Regions from separate parts of the Homo sapiens genome. Here region 1 is linked to region 2. Evidence: promoter capture Hi-C in human tissues and cell types (Jung and others, 2019). All regions are on one chromosome and are shown on one strand. Each heading gives the region's core, a stretch centred on a gene start or on the middle of the fragment in contact. The rest is flanking DNA. Distances are from core to core; before and after follow the strand shown.

What was found. Contacts are between HindIII fragments. The study calls those that stand out against the background at their distance.
Region 1: a contact is called between a fragment that was not itself captured here and the fragment with the promoter of LCORL in region 2, in 1 of the 25 tissues and cell types used here (dorsolateral prefrontal cortex).

Annotation. Positions count from the first base shown.
Region 1 is chr4:18,224,434-18,227,644 of GRCh38, forward strand. LOC107986262 (a long non-coding RNA gene) reads left to right here. Exons shown (of 3, transcript XR_001741598.1): 3 at 2,211-2,332. Among named protein-coding and RNA genes, the nearest start is that of LCORL, 200 kb to the left of the region's middle. The HindIII fragment of the contact is 5,253 bases long and covers 1-3,211 here.
Region 2 is chr4:18,020,235-18,023,304 of GRCh38, forward strand. LCORL (ligand dependent nuclear receptor corepressor like) reads right to left here and starts at 1,521. Exons shown (of 8, transcript NM_001394446.1): 1 at 1,364-1,521. The coding sequence starts at 1,517. RefSeq lists silencers at 733-1,062, 1,383-1,842 and an enhancer at 1,893-2,152. The HindIII fragment of the contact is 18,207 bases long and covers 1-3,070 here.

The DNA of each region.
Region 1 (3,211 bases), core at 127-2,626, 200 kb after region 2:
CTGTCTTTGTGGTTTTATCTACCTTTGTTCTTTAATGTTGGTGACCTACCAATGGGGTTTTGATGTGGATGTCCTTTTTGTTGATGTTGATGCTATTCCTTTCTGTTCGTTAGTTTTCCTTCTAACACTCAGGCCCCTCAGCTGCAGGTCTGTTGGACTTTGCTGGAGGTCCACTCCAGGCCCTGTTTGCCTGGGTATCACCATCAGAGTCTGCACAACAGCAAGTATTGCTGCCTGATCATTCCTCTGGAAGCTTCGTTCCAGAGGGGCACCTGCCAGATGCCACCCATAGCTCTCCTGTATGAGGTGTCTTTCTCCCATGCTGGGAGAACCACTGCTCTCTTCAGAGCTGACAGGCAGGGATGTTTATGTCTGGAGAAGTTGTGCCCAGAGCTGCCCCTTCCCCTAAGTGCTCTGTCCCAGGGAGACGAGGGTTTCTCTATAAGTCCTTGACTTGGGCTGCTGCCTTTTTTTCAGATATGCCCTGCCCACAGATGTGGAATCTAGAGAGGCAGTTGGCCTTGCTGGGGTGCGGTGGGCTCTGCCCATTTCAAGCTTTCCAGCAGCTTTGTTTACACTGTGAGCATAAAACCACCTACTCAAGCCTCAGCAATGGTGGACACCCCTCCCCGCTCCAAGCTCCAGTGTCCCAGGTCAATCTCAGACTGCTGCACTAGCAGCAAGAATTTCAAGCCAATGGATCTTAGCTTGCTCGGCTCTGTGGGTGTGGGACGCACTGAGCCAGGCACAGGAGAGAATCTCCTGGTCTGCAGGTTGTAAAGAATGTGGGAAAAATGCAGTATTGAGGCAGGAGTGTATCCTTCTTCCTGGTACAGTCTCTCATGGCTTCCCTTGGCTAGGAAAGGGAAATCCCCCAGCTCCTTGTGCTTCCCAGGTGAGGTGATGCCCCACCCTGCTTTGGCTTGCCCTCCATGGGCCACACCAACTGTCCAACCAGTCCCATTGAGATGAACCAGGTACCTCAGTTGGAAATGCAGAAATCACCCATCTTCTGCGTCAGTCTTGCTGGGAGCTGCAGACTGGACCTGTTCCTATTTGGCCATCTTGGAAGAGTTCTCCCAAGTCCTACTCATATTTTGTGACCTAGTTTCAAGGCCACCATCTCCAAGAAGACTTCGTATATGCTCCCAAACATAAAGGGTCTGTCAGGGCTCTGAACTTGCTTACAACCTGATGCCTTTCCTAATGTGGCTGATCATGTTCTGTCTGGTTATTTCTCTTCTCTCCTGTACTTGATTTGAAAGCTCTTTGAGCACATGGGCTATGCCTCAGTTGTCTTTGTGTTTCAAAGACAAAGACAAACAAAGGCCCAAAAAATTAACCTCATCATTAGCCTCTGTTTATTCAAAGATAAACAAAGGCCAAATAAATTAAACTCATTGCTCAGCCCAAAGTATTGCATTTTAATTCTTTTGTGTGTTTTGTTTTGTTTTGTTTGAGACAGAGTCTTGCTCTGTCACCTAGGATGGAGTGCAGTGGCACAATCTCAGCTCACTGCAACCTCTGCCTCCTTGGTTCAAGCGATTCTTGTGCCTCAGCCTCCTGAATAGCTGGGATTACAGGCATATGCCACCATGCCCAGCTAATTTTTGCATTTTTAGTAGAGATGGGATTTTACCATGTTGCCCAGGCTGATCTCGAACTCCTGGCCTCAAGCAATCTGCCCACCCTGGCCTCCCAAAGTGCTGGGATTAACCATGCCTGGCTGCATTTTTAGTTGCTAATATGATAGTCACTGATGTTATCCTATAAAAGTAAAATAACATCTGAGAGACTATCATTTTTAATTGCAGTTAATTTATAAAATATCATTTACATAATACAATTTTCACATATTTTTGCTGTCACACAAAATGTCACCTACAATATGTTAGAGAGCTAGCAAGTCCTTCCACAAACTAAGAAATATATTTTCTCTATGAGAAAGAGAGGGTGTTTTCAACAGTTCTTGGTGAGTTATTTAAAGAAAGCTAAAATACAAATAATCAAAGCTACATAAATTACATAAAATCTACCCTTAAGCATTTGTTTTTCTCCCTGCCGTTTATATAGTATCTAATCAGTTACCATTAGTTGGTTTTGAACTTTCATACAGGTTAATCTTTCAAATCTACTGTGCACATTCGTTAGAGACTCACCTATGGTTAAAAAAATAATAATTCCCTTTTCTTGGTTTCATACATTTTTAGGAAGAGAGAGACATCAAGTAATTGCCTAGTTTGGACCACATTCTATAAGCAAGACTCTAGGTTTTCCCAGAGACTTGAGCATCCATGACATGCTGAAATATATACTGGGAAAAAGACCCTGCAGCCCCTTCATGAAGGTAAAACATTCCACATCCAATAACATTTAAGCAGCATTTAAGATTTTATTTTTAAAATTTAAAAAACTAGCTTTAAAATTCAGGCCAGAAAAATATATATTTATAATATTAAGTAGAGAAGTATGTGCAGAATTTGGTAAAATACAATACAAAAAAGTCCAAGTTTATAAAGAGACATTATCCTGAGACAGGGTATTGCAGTGTCTTTGAAGTGAGAAACAACTGTGCCCTCAATGGACAATAGTAGAGTTGCTCATAAGAAATTAAGGATCAAGAAAAAGGGCAGTGTATAGTAGAGCATGGGGAAGTGATAGAGTGGGCAGAAAAAAAAACAGTATGCCCATAGTATTGGCAGCAAAGTTACCAACCTGATCCTGAAGCCTTAGGTCTCACCTGTCCATCCACAATTGATACCGCCAACAGCAAACACGTGCCAAGAAGCCAGGCACAGTGCACCATTATGTTAATACTCTTATGTCCACCAACGTGGACCCTCTTATTTCATTCCTACTCTGTCCCTGCCCTGTGCTCATTTATCTGTTTCTTCCATACACTGATTCATTTGGACATTAAGTGCTTAACTGCCAGACTCTGTTCTTGAATGTGGGAATACCTGGTCAATATGATGAGGTTTTGGCCCTCATAGCACTAAGAATATAGTAAGAAATGCAGAGAAACAAACATTTAGTATAGAAGCATTCAGTCCTGGGATACATAAAAGATGGGCTACAATGGAAGCCCAGATAAGGAGGACCTACTCCTGCTCTGTGGTTGGTTCAGGAAAGGGTCACTGGAGCAAGAGGTCTCTAAGCTGAGAGCTAAGGTTAGAGTTAGTTAGGAAAGGACAGAAGGAAAAGAACAAAC
Region 2 (3,070 bases), core at 271-2,770:
AGACGTTAACCAAATACATGGGAGGCGGGGTCGGGGGTGCGAGGTGGTGCCAGAGCAGATGGAAACAAGGTAAGAGAGTTGTTTTCTTAAGACACTAGGGTTACTCCCCAACTCCAAATGCCAAGATTCACTCGCCAGTAGAGCAAGCTGCTGCCACTATCCACTGCTTACACAATACAACCTTCCTTTCTACCTCTTCCCCTACACTCCCACCCATAACCCCCTTCCAAAACAAACACCCACAACGCGCCCCATTCCATAATCCGTGTTCGCCCCTCTAAGCCCACTAAACCAACCTGCTGGATAACAGCTCTATGCATTCGTCTTAGGCAAAAAAAGAAAAAAAAAAAAGCGACTGCAGCAAGGTCGGGAGTCCCACCATTCCTGTCACCCTAAACAATCCACAGGGTGAGAGCCCCAAGCCCAGAAGTTTGAGGCAAAACGATTCAGATCCAACCAAAAAGAGGGAATTGCAGTTGAATGGGGATGGGAGGTGGGGAGGGCGATGCGTATGCGTGTATATGTGTGTGTGTGTGTAAGGAAGAGTCCATCACATGACAGTGAAAGAGGACCAGAGTCGTCGGGGCGTCCGCAAGCAGACGGGGGGGAGGGTGTCGTTGCCGTGGCAACACCCCCCATCCGTCCAGACTTCCAAAGAGGGAGGAAGAACTTCAAATCCCAACCGTCAGCGCTCAAGCGGCTCCTTCTTAAAGGGGTACACACAGCGCCGCCGCCGAGCGCGAGAGGGCAGAGTTGGGCGCCCCCCGCCCCTCGGACGACGCCCCCGCCGCCCCTCGCCCCCAGCCGGCCCATCAGCGGCCCCCGCCCTGCGAGTGCCCGTGGGTCTCCAGGTCCAGGTCCCCGGGAACTGGCCGCGTCTGCTCACCCGGCCCCCGGCGGCGACAAGGGGGTGTGTGTGCGCTCGGCGGGGGCGCGGACCAGCCCGCCTTCCTCCGGCCGCCCTGCCCGCCGGCTCTCCTCCGCCAGGGCGCCGACCCACCGGGCCGCTTCCTCCGTCCTGTCAGGGTGGACGGCGGGCGACGGCGGGCAGCGACGGGCGCCGAGGAGTTTCGGGGAGAGAGCGAGCGGGCGGCTTCCGCGGGGGCTCAGCAAGCGGGTCCAAACTAACAGTTCCCGGGGAGCCCAAGAGCTGGGAAGGCGAAGGAGCGCGGACCGCGCCGGGCCAGCAGCCCGCAAGACAAAAGGCGAGCGCCGGGGCCGCCGCGCCGCGCCGCTCCCATCTCGCTCCCCCACCGAACTAACCCGAACGGGAGATTCAACTAAACCCCTCAGCCACAAACTCCTCGGGCTGCGACAGCGGTCGCCGCGCGGAGCCCGGGGCCCCGGCCCGCGTCTCTCTTACCTACACAGTGCATGAGGCGGTGGCGCCAAGAGTCGAGTTCCCGCCGGAATCCTCTTCTCTCCGCCGCGCACCGAGGGCTCCGGCACTGAGCGGCGGCGGCGGCGGCGGCAGCAGCGGCGGCGGCAGCGGCCATTCTCTCTCTTCCCTTGTCCATCTGCGTCCCGCGTCACGCGCCCTCATTTACATACGAGCAGCGCAGGCACGAGGCAGGGGCGCGAGCCCTCGGCGCGAGCCCCGGAGCGCGCGCCCCCCGGAGGGGGGTTGATTGACACGTGTCACTACCTTCCCTCTGCCCTGCCCTCCCCCTCCCACCGCTCCCTCAGGGAGAGGCGGGGAGGGAGCCAGAGGAGAAGGAAGCAACCTGCCGCTTCCGCTGACCCCGCCTCCCCACCCACTACCCTCCTCCCCCTCCCGCTGGAGTTTACTCAGGCGAGCCATACCGCTCCCGCCGCCCGCGAAAACCCTGAGCGGGAGCGAGAGACCCGGAGCCCAGCCAGGAACCGGCGTGCTAGTGGAGCGGACTAGCAACGCCTACTTTCTGCCTTCACTACGGGACTCCGACAGTCCGGAGACTTCACTTCCCAGGCTCCATTTCGCCAGGATCCCGAAGCTGAACTTGGCGCCGTGGCGCGTTGCTTGCCGGTCATTGTAGTCCAGAAGAAAGGATTTTTTTTGTTTGTTTGTTTTTCTTCCCCCCCGCACTTGGGTATGCAGGCTGGCCTGCAACTTCTCTGCGCCGCGCCGCTGGGGGGCTGAGTCTGTCGCTCCCTGCGCCCGGAACCATGCGCTGCCCGGTGGCCGGGTCTGACCCGACTGCTTTAGCTTCCTTAGGCTCCGCGATAGAAGGGTGGTGGAAGCCGCAAGAGTTGTCGGCTCCTTGTGGGTTCAGGCTGCGCTTTGCGTTTTAAGTGCTGGAAACTTTCCGGGGTCGCTGTCTTCCTGTCACTCCGCAGGGAAAGGGCAAGCCGGTCATTCGGCTACATCTGGAATAACTGCCAAACGTCCAGAGAGAGATCCCGGAGTGACTTCGGTATTCAAGGCGAAGAGATCTCGGAAAGCCAGAATATTTGCAAGGACTAGGAAAAAGATGCGGGTTTTTTTCACTGAAAATTACTTGCAGGGGACTGGGTGTAGCCGGCTGAAAACTGCAGAAGGAAAATTTTCTTTATAAGCTCCTGGAGGGCAGCGACCCACTGAGATCTCTGTACCGTGACATCTGTCACTCGCTAGACCCTAGTACAGTGCGTGACACGGGATTAAGCACTTTACAAAGGTTAATGGAATGAATTCTACCACGTGCTAGAGAAAATAACTTCTTCAGAGAGAGCTAGAGAGGAATCTTACGTTTAAATACAGACTCCAATCACAGTTTTTACTTTTGCACCAGAGCGATTGTGCGTTTGTTTCCGTATAAGTGCAGTTTATCAAGCCGAAGCTAAGCTACCCAACGTTTGCTAAGAAGTACTGTGTATTTCTGGAAATTTATTCACAAGTCTGTGGGAAATATGTTTAATTCTTCTTGGAAATCTCATAAACTCTGAATTCAGTACCACCTTCCCTGTTTTGTGGCTTATCCTTATCCACCTTCTTTTTCTTCCTATGAGAAAGTATTTCTTTGCTCATTATGACTTCAGTAGTGAAGATGTAATTTTGCATCTTCATAAGTTAAAAATAATAAAGTTTGAACGCATAATCACCTTTTCTAGA